Regions from separate parts of the Homo sapiens genome. Here region 2 is linked to region 1. Evidence: promoter capture Hi-C in human tissues and cell types (Jung and others, 2019). All regions are on one chromosome and are shown on one strand. The core of a region is centred on a gene start or on the middle of the fragment in contact, and the rest is flanking DNA. Distances in the headings are between cores, read along the strand shown. Region 1 holds the start of APOD (apolipoprotein D). Region 2 overlaps MUC4 (mucin 4, cell surface associated).

The links. Contacts are between HindIII fragments. The study calls those that stand out against the background at their distance.
Region 2: a fragment that was not itself captured here is called in contact with the fragment with the promoter of APOD in region 1 in 3 of the 25 tissues and cell types used here (lymphoblastoid cells, mesenchymal stem cells and spleen).

The regions. Positions count from the first base shown.
Region 1 is chr3:195,582,217-195,587,208 of GRCh38, reverse strand. APOD (apolipoprotein D) reads left to right here and starts at 3,269. Exons shown (of 5, transcript NM_001647.4): 1 at 3,269-3,331. RefSeq lists an enhancer at 3,649-3,818. The HindIII fragment of the contact is 4,834 bases long and covers 1-3,749 here.
Region 2 is chr3:195,795,566-195,800,898 of GRCh38, reverse strand. The region is part of intron 1 of MUC4 (mucin 4, cell surface associated); the gene reads left to right. Among named protein-coding and RNA genes, the nearest start is that of MUC4, 14 kb to the left of the region's middle. The HindIII fragment of the contact is 4,037 bases long and covers 1-3,539 here.

The DNA.
Region 1 (4,992 bases), core at 2,020-4,519:
GTCTTAAAGAGTGAAGGTGCACTACTGAAACCTCTCAGTCTGCATTTTCACACGAAAAGTACATTTGTGCGTCCCCTTTATTCTAACTGACAAAAGAAAAATCACTTTAGAAAGGCATACAGGATGACTCTGGTAGTTGAAAGAACCACTTATTAAGAAATAAAGAATTCTTCATCCAGAAACATGTTTTTTTAGGAGATGAGATAGTTCTCTATTTCTTGCCACAAAGAGTCCATTCAAATAACTGCATCTTCCCTGCGGGTCTGAGAGTGAAACCACTGAGGCAATCACCTCCATGATGAAAGATCATCACCCAACAAAGAACTGCTTTCCGGAAAAACCACAGACCACAGACTGTCTCTTCAAGAAATGCGCTGTCGCCTGTAATCCAGCACTTTGGGAGGCCGAGGCGGGCAGATCACGAGGTCAGGAGATCGAGACCATCCTGGATAACACGGTGAAACCCCGTCTCTACTAAAAAAAAAAAAAAATTAGCCGGGCATGGTGGCAGGCCCCCGTAGTCCCAGCTACTCAGGAGGCTGAGGCAGGAGAATGGCATGAACCTGGGAGGCAGAGTTTGCAGTGAGCCGAGATCCGGCCACTGCACCACTCCAGCCTGGGCGAGAGCGAGATTCTGTCTCAAAAAAAAAAAAAGAAAGGAAAAAAAGAAATGTGCTCTCAGGTAAAAGCAAGATTTTGCAGCAGGTGAAAGAATGAGGTAGATCTATGTGTACTGATATAGAAAGATAGATACATTGTTACATTAAAAAACAAGTTTCTTGGCTGGGCGCAGTGGCGGTGGCTCATGCCTGTAATCCCAACACTTTGGGAGGCCGAGGCGGGTGGATCACCTGAGGTCAGGAGTTTGAGACCAGTCTGGCCAACATGGTGAAACTCCGTCTCTACTAAAAATACAAAAATCACTTGGGTGTGGTGGCGGGCGCCTGTAATCCCAGCTACTCGGGAGGCAGAGGCAGGAGAATCACTTGAACCAGGGAGGCTGAGGTTGCAGTGAACCAAGATTGCACCACTGCACTCCAGCCTGGGTGACAGAGTGAGTGAAGGTCGGTCTCAAAAAAAAAAAAAAGTTTCAGAACATTGAATATTGTTATTATTACATAGGGATCTGTATAGAAAGATCTAGAGGAATAATTACAAACAAAATAATGCTTATCTCTGAGGTGTGGGATTATGAGGTGCTTACATTTCCTGAGTCCTGCATTTTGGTGCTATTTTAATTGTTTTGAACAAATGTGTATTTATTTTGGGACTTAAAAATAAACACTTGCTTAGAAGATAGGTCTGATTTGTTTTATGCTGCTTAAGAATTTGTTACTGGCTATACATTCCAGAAACATGTGAAGAGAGGATTTCCCTAAGGAATATATCACTTACCAATATTTACAGAAAAAATGAACTGAGACCTAGGAAGATCGTGTGGCTTTTCTCCCGCTGTGACTCCTAGACCTGGACCTTCAGCTCCATGGTTGCCGACTTCAGTGCTGAGGGCTAAAATACATAGATATCTCCAACTCCAACATACATATTTGGAAACTTAGGCAACAGTGCTTTGTGGAAAACTGTGCAACTGCTTAGAGGAGAGAGAATTTTTTGTAATAGGCTGAAAAGAGGCTAACTGTGTATTTCTTCAATGACAGGCAATTCTTGGTGGCAAATGTGATACAGGTGAAGAAGACAGAAACATACAGGCTAGTGCTTCTCCAGAAATACAATTGAAATCAAAATCGCGTGAATATTACCTCTGGGGCCTTTTGTATATCTTAGAAACTCATTAAGTTCTTTGGATAGCATCCATTTAATTTATAAGTATTTACTGAGCACTTAGTATGTGCTTAGCCACTGGGGCACAACACAGAGTCAAAGAGACAAACTCCTGGCACGCCTCAAGCTCCTATCCTCCTGGGGAAAACATACTAAGCAGGATAATGTATAAATAAAGGAGAGAATTTCAGGTAAAGATATAATGAAGCAGGGAAAGGGACAGTGACAAGAGTGCTATTTTTGAAAGGTCAGGAAGCTTTTTAGGGAAAAGTGTCATCTGATCAGGGACCTGGAGTGGGGAAGGGAGCTACACAGAGCTCTTAGGGGAGGGCAGCACAGGAGGTCAGCGAGAGGCAGGCCCTGGGTGGTAGTAGGAATTTCTTATGTTTCTGAAAAGGCAAAGAACATCTTAAAGAAAGCGCTCACAACGTTTGGGATGTTACGGATCTGTGTTGTTGTTTTCATGTTTATAGACTCAGTGCTGTAAATGTATCTCTGTTGCTTACATATTTTAGAATGAATTTCATTTAGGAGTCTAAGTCTACTACGAAGGCACTGCCTTATCTAAATGTCTCTAAACATACCTCCTGCCTATCACAAAGACATAGAATCTCACTCACAAGAGTCAAAGTTGTTCATTCCACCAGGAGAGATAAGGCTGGACCAAAAGCACCCCTGGGTTTAAGTCCACACTCCCCACCACCCCGGCCCCCACCCCCAAGCAGTGACAGACTGTCTTGAACTTCTCGCTGCAAGGGTCATAAAAGGGACAGAGAACAGAGCGACAGAAGATGTCTTCTGCATTCTCAACTTTTAGCCCCAGTTGTTAGAGAACTGGTATCTCCCCTACACGTCTGGCTCTGGTGGAGAAAGAATGACAGCCCCTACTTACAACGAGGAGACTGTGGCTCAGAGAAGTTAGGGGGCTGCCCAGGATCCTGGAGAAAGCCAGCTTTGACTCATAACCCTCGCGCCATTACCTGACTCCCATTAGTGGAGTCAGGAACTCCATGTTCCACTTCAGGAAATGAGCTTGTTGATTTTTCATTTACACAAAAATGAAAAATAAATACCAGATGTTTGAAAACATGTTGCAACACGTCCTGCTGGAACTTAAAAGTGCATTCTGACCAAAAAAATTAAATTAGAAAATCCACATAGCAAAAAAAAAAATGTTTTGGATGAAAATATACTTTATCTTTCTCTCACACATACTCTCTCTCTCTCTCGCACACATACCCACACACACACACACACACACACACGCGCGCGCGAAAACAATATCTCATTTCTTCTTCAGGGAGCAGCTGTGAAGGAAATCGGGGGAGGAGGATGGACACAACATCCCATCTTTGTGTTTCGATACAGACTAAGCTTTTAGGCCAACCCTCCTGACTGGATGGGGGCGGCGGGCGTGGCATGCATGAAAAGTAAACATCAGAGACCTGAAGAAGCTTATAAAATAGCTTGGGAGAGGCCAGTCACCAAGACAGGCATCTCAAATCGGCTGATTCTGCATCTGGAAACTGCCTTCATCTTGAAAGAAAAGGTATGTACTGTAGTTTTAAGCTTTTCATTTATGATAATAATGTCTAAAATAGAAACAGTCTAGACTCTCCATTGCCCCATTTCAGCTACATATAACTACCACTGATTGAGAGCTTGTGCCGGTAGCTTTAGACTTGTTCTCATTTTTCCTCAAACAAATGTACAAGGTAGGTATCATCAGAGCCATTTTTCCAGTGATAAAGCTGAGGTTCAGATACACTAGCAACATGCCTAAGATAAAACCAAACCCAGTGTGAACTCATCCCAGCGTCTTTTGCTTACCCCTCCAAACTGGACAACGAGGTGTTTCCATGCACAAACACCGTCCTAGGTGAATTCTCAGCAAGCTGTCCAACGGTGCATCGCAGTAAAATAATCTGGAAACTGGAATTAATGGTGTGACTAGAAAATGCATTTGACAATATGGCATAAAATATTGTGTTTGGGAGATACGTGTCTTGTTATATTTAATGGCTAAATGAGTCTTTGAGACCTAATGACTTATTGGAACCTATTTTATTTTATGAGGTGAAATTTCAAAATCTAGTCCTTCACGTTCTGCAGATCTTTGAGGTCAGGGGCTGTGTCCCCAGGCACTAAGAGCGCGGGCTTGTGGGAGACCTAGGCTTACATTCTAGCCTGTCCCCAGGCCTAGGCTTACACTGTGGCTTCGTAGTTTACCAGGAAGTAACCCGGGCAAATTCACCTCGTTGGTATGAAGAGAGTGTCAGCAGAGGTCGCCTCCAGAGGAGGTGCTGTGGAGACTGAGCGCATAGCACCCTTAAAATCCTGGGACCAGGGCTTCTCCACGGGTAAGCTTAATGCAAGTGGAGCAGTGATTTCCAGCTAGTGCCAGGCCCAAGGTGGATGCACTGTCACCTTAGTTGGATTGCTTTTTAATTACCTCATATTCTGTTAAAAATCATATTTCTTTTTTTTTTTTTTTGAGACGGAGTCTCACTCTGTCACCCAGGCTGGAGTGCAGTGGCGCGATCTCGGCTCACTACAGCCTCCGCCTCCCAGGTTCAAGCCATTCTTGTGCCTCAGCCTCCCAAGTAGCTGGGATTACAGGACTGCACCACCATGCCCAGCTAATTTTTGTATTTTTTGTTTGTTTGTTTTTGTTTTGTTTTTTTGAGATGGAGTTTTTGCTCTGTTGCCCAAGCTAGAGTGCAATGGTGTGATCTTGGCTTACTGCAACCTCTGCCTCCCATGTTCAAGCAATTATCCTGCATCAGCCTCCCGAGTAGCTGTGATTACAGGTACTTGCCACCACACCTGGCTAATTTTTTGTATTTTTAGTAGAGACGGGGTTTCGCCATGTTGGCCAGGCTGGTCTCAAACTCCTAACCTCAAGTGATCTGCCCACCTCGGCCTCCCAAAGTGTTGGGATTACAGGCATTAGCCATCATGCCCGGCCAAAAATAATATTTAAATTATACTTATTTTGTAAAGTATTTAAACTCCTCATAAGAACAATCTTCCTATTGATATCAGAAGAAGATGCAAAAATATATGTCGTATATAATCCATATGTTACCCAAAGTCTTAAGTACACATTAATAACATGCTCAATAAGTAATGAGTAAATTAGAATGAAAGGACATTGAAAACTATAATGGATGCTGTCCGCCCTTTCTCTCACAAGGAGTTTTTTTGTTG
Region 2 (5,333 bases), core at 272-2,771, 220 kb before region 1:
TTTTTTTTCAGAGAAGGGGTCTTGAGCTATTGCCCAGGCTGGTCTCAAACTCCTGGCCTCAAGGAATCCTCCCGCCTCTGCCTGTCCGTGCTGGGATTTTAGGCATGAGCTACCATGCCCAGCTGAGAACCATTTTCTTACCAAAAATCATTCTCCATAGTCTCTCCATCCACTAGGATTTCTTTCTTTTTCTTCTTTGTAAAGATAGGTCATACTTGAACACAGGATTTCTTACCTACAAATAACCTACTCAAGCTTAGTAGATTGAGTTATCTGCAAATTGTTTTCCTAAACAGCTGAATAATCAATCTATTGCAGGAGTGGCTTCAGAGGTATTGTTTAAATGATGGTGAAAGACAAATGCAATAACTGTAGTTTTGTCGTAACGAATGCTAATCTCTTCCTCCTCACAAGCCCAACAGATTGAGAGATTTTGACAGCGCCTTCTCCCCTAGACAATAAAACTATGTCCTCCACATGCAGTGACTCACTTGCCCTCCTATTTGCGGCAGCAGGAAACTCTAATCAACTTGGCTCAAGATGAGCAAGTTCTCTAAATAAAGATTTAAAAGGAGGACTACCAGGACACAGCCCTGTTTAGCAAGAATTTTTTTTTTTTTTGAGATGGAGTCCCGCTCTGTCGCCCAGGCTGGAGTGCAGTGGCGCGATCTCGGCTCACTGCAACCTCCACCTCCCAGGTTTGAGAGATTCTCCTGCCTCAGCCTCCTGAGTAGCTGGGATTACAGGTGCACGCCACCATGCCTGGGTAATTTTTGTATTTTTAGTAGAGATGGGGTTTCATCATGTTGGCCAGGCTGGTCTTGAACTCCTGACCTCAAATGATCCACCCGCTTCGACCTCCCAAAGTGCTGGGATTACAGGTGTGAGGCACCGCACCTGGCCGATTTTCAGTCGATGCTGTGAAGCAAAGAGCAGCAGGTGAGGGATGGGGCCTGTCCTGGATCATGCCCCTTTGTTCACAGGCTAGGGATATGGGGAAACAGGCACACTCTTGCACACTGCCAACAGGTCTGTAAATTGGCATAAGCTTTCTGCAAAGAAATTTGGCAGTCTGTATTAATAACATGAAAAATTTTATAACGGCATAAACCAGCAATTCCACTGATAGAAATTTATGTTAAGGAGATGAGCTGAAATAATGTAAACAAAACATTAGACACGAAGATAGTCATCAGGGCTTTATTTAAAATAAGCAATACATTGGAAATATCCTAATTGTCCAACAGTAAGTTAACAATATGAGCTTTCTCTATGATGGCTTATTATTTAGTGTTTAGGCCGGGCGCGGTGGCTCACGCCTGTAATCCCAGCACTTTGGGAGGCTGAGGTGAGTGGATCACCTGAGGTCAAGAGTTTGAGACCAGCCTGGCCAACATGGTGAAACCCAGTCTCCACTAAAAATACAAAAAATTAGCCTGGCATGGTGGCACATGCCTGTAATCCCAGCTACTTGGGAGGCTGAAGCAGGAGAATCACGGAGGTGGAGGTTGCAGTGGGCCGAAATCGTGCCGTTGCACTCCAGCCTGGGCAACAAGAGTGAAACTCCATCTGGAAAAAAAAATGTTTAAAGGCTATGTCCAATGTTCCATAAGGGCAGGGACACACACACACAGTGTCACACACACACACACACACACACACACACACAGTGTCACACATACATACTAGCAACACACAGAACGGGCATAAAGTAAGATGTATTAAGGAGAAATTGCGAGCAGGGAGCAGTGGAGTCCACATGACCCCCGAGCTCTCATTGCACAGAGAGGTGGGTATGGTGGACACACAGCAGGATGTGGTACAGGAGAGAGACCTGCTCCTGTTTAACAGAAAATGGGAAGGGTAACAACGCTTCCAGTTGGGGGAGTGGCTTTGTTAGGAAGGAGGCCACCAGAGCTCAGCAGGGGGAGTTTTTATACAGCACCCTAGATTTTACTATGGAGCTGAGCTCTCCCAGTCCCCCTGAGCCAGCTCTTGTAGGACTCCAAAAGGGGGAAGCAAGGAACTGCCATCCAAGACATAAAAGATGTGCGTCTTCTCAGGCTATGTTTACGAAGCTAGTATCTTGAAGAAATGCTCATATCAGGTATGGCTAAAAAGGCAGGATACAAAATTATGTATACTGAATAAGTTAAACTATACATATATATTTTTTAATTTTTAATTTTTTTTTTGAGACGGAGTCTCACTCTGTCACCCAGGCAGGAGTGCAGTGGTGCAATCTCGGCTCACTGCAAGCTCCGCCTCCCGGGTTCACGCCATTCTCCTGCCTCAGCCTCCCGAGTAGCTGGGACTACAGGCGCCCGCCACCACGCCCGGCTAATTTTTTTGTATTTTTAGTAGAGACGGGGGTTCACCCTGTTAGCCAGGATGGTCTCGATCTCCTGACCTCATGATCCGCCCACCTCAGCCTCACAAAGCGCTGGGATTACAGGTGTGAGCCACCACGCCTGGCCTAAACTATATATTTTTTAAAGCATAAAAACATCCTGGAAGGAAGCATTGTCTGGTAGCAAGATTATGGGTTTTGATCTTTCAACTATAAATGTTCCCAAATGCACGTAACCAGTATGTGTGTTTTCTTTGGCATATTTCAATGCAGTTGTACAATTTTGTCCATAAAGATTAAGCACATCTTTTGTTAGATTTATTTTTATGTACTTTTTTTGGTCACCATCATAAACACTATAGTCTTAAAAATATTTTCTCTTTCACTGATATATAGGAATGCAGTTTTATTTTGTTTTTAAATCTCTTTTTGAGACAGAGTCTCCCTCTGTCATGCAGGCTGGAGTACAGTGGGGTGATCATAGCTCACTGCAGCCTCGAACTCTTGGGCTCAAGTGATCCTCCCCCCTCAACTTCTGAGTAGCTGGAACTATATGTGTGTGCTACTATGCCCAGCTAATTTTTTATTTTTTTATTTTTTATTTCTGTAGAGACAGGATCTTGCTATGTTACCCAGGCTGGTCTTGAACTCCTGGCCTCAAGTGTTCCTCCTGCCTCAGCCTCTCAAAGCACTGGGATTCAGGCATGAATCACCACACCCAGCTGGAATGCAATTATTTTTAAAATTTTGATTATGGATATAGAACTTTGCTAATAATGTATATGTTTGGGAAGTTTCTATGTAAACAATTATGTTATCTGCAAATAACCATAGGCTTGTTTCATCCCTTCCATACCCAAAATCACATTTCTGTACTCTCATACTTTTTGTTTAATTTTCTCGTCTTATTTCACCAGCTAAAACCTTCAACCTAATGTTGATTAGAAGCAGTGATTGTTGGCATCTTGTTTTTATTCCTGATTTTACAGAAACGTTTCTATTGTTTTAAGTATAATGTTTACACGGGGTTATAATTGACATTGTTTATCAGGTTAAAAGAGTTAACGTCTCTTTTTAGTTTGCTAGGAGTTTTAACAGGAGTAAGTGTTGACTTTTATCAAATAACTTTCCTGTATCTGCTGTGGTGATTGTGTCTCCCCTCCGTTCTGTTTATATGGTGATTTACATTAAGAAAGCATTGTCTTTATCTTGCATTTCTGATTTAAACTCAGCTTGATCATGATGTACTTTTAAAATATTTATTTATTTATTTATTTATTTAAGATAGAGTCCTGCTCTGTCACCAGGCTGGAGTGCAGTGGCACAATCTCGGCTCACTGCAATCTCTGCCTCCTGGGTTCAAGCAATTCTCGTGCCTCAGCCTCCTGAGTAGCTGGGATTACAGGTGTGTGCCACCAAGCCCAGCACACACCTGTAATCCAAAAAAATACAAATTTTTTGTATTTTTACCAGAGACGGGGTTTCTCTAGGTTGGCCAGGCTGGTCTGGAACTCCCGGCCTCAAGTGATCCGCCTGCCTCGGCCTGCCAAAGTGTTGGGGTTACAGGCGTGAGCCGCCGCGCCCGGCCATGATGCACTTTGGCTTGCTAATATTTTATTTACGATGCTTCCATGTATTATTACTGGGACTTATTAATCTATAGTTTGTCTTTCTTATCCTATCTTTGGTTTCCAACCTTATAAAATTATTAGTAGATCATTTCCTCCTGTTCCAAACTCTGAATATGTTTGTATAGAATTGAAATTACCTGTTCCTTGAATGTCTGATTTGCCTGTAAACTCATCTTAGCCTGCATTTTTTTGTGGGGTGGATAGATTATATATACATATTTTTTTTTGAGACGGAGTCTCACCTTGTCACCCAGGCTGGAGTGCAATGGCATGATCTCCGCTCACTGCAACCTCTGCCTCCCAGGTTCACGCCGTTCTCCTGCCTCAGCCTCCAGAGTAGCTGGGACTACAGGCGCCTGCCACCATGCCCAGCTAATTTTTTTTTCACCGTGTTAGCCAGGATGGTCTCAATCTCCTGACCTCATGATCCGCCTGCCTCACCCTCCCAACGTGTTAGGATTACAGGCGTGAGCCACCGCACCCGGCCTAGATTATATTTTTTAAACTGCTGATTCAATTTAAAATAGTTTATAGTGGCCGGGCGAGGTGGCTCATGCCTGTAATCCCAGCACTTTGGGATGCCGAGGTGGGTAGATCACCTGAGGTCAGGAGTTTGAGACCAGCCAGGACGACATGGTGAAACCCAGTCTCTACTAAAAATACAAAAATTAGCCGGGCGTGGTGGCATGCGCCTGTAATCCCAGCTACTTGGGAGGCTGAAGCAGGAGAATCTTGAACCTGGGAGGCAGAGGTTGCAGTGAGCTGAGATCATGCCATTGCACTCCAGCCTGGGCAACAAAGCAAGACTCTGTTTCAAAAAAATAAATAAATAAAATTAAATAAATAAAATAAAATAGTTTTTAGCCAGGTTTTTTTCTTAATTCATTTTTGATAAATTATATTTTTAAGGACAGTATATCCAATTTATCTAAGTTTTCATACTTTTTGGTATAAATTCATCAGAGCACTGTCTCTTAAATTTTTTTTCTGAAGTTATGTACCCTTTTTTGTTTCTAATAATCTTGATATCTGTGTCTTTTCTGTCTCTCTCTCTCCCTCCTCCCACCCCCCTCCCCCACTTTCTTTCTCTTGCCAGGTATTTGTTTTATTTTCAAAGAACTAATCTTTGGCTTCATTTATTCCATTTTTAATTGTTTCTATAGTGAGTTCTGGTCTGTTACTATATCCTTCATTCTGCTTCCTTTTTCTTTTTTCTTCCTGGTCTTTCTAGTCTACCTTTTTTGCTGGCGGTTCCAGCTTTTTGCAGGGAAACTCAGTTCAGTGTCGTGACCGAGGGTCTTGCTTCCTTTCCTTTTTCAGCCTTTCAGTCAGCACATTTCCAAGGGCATTGA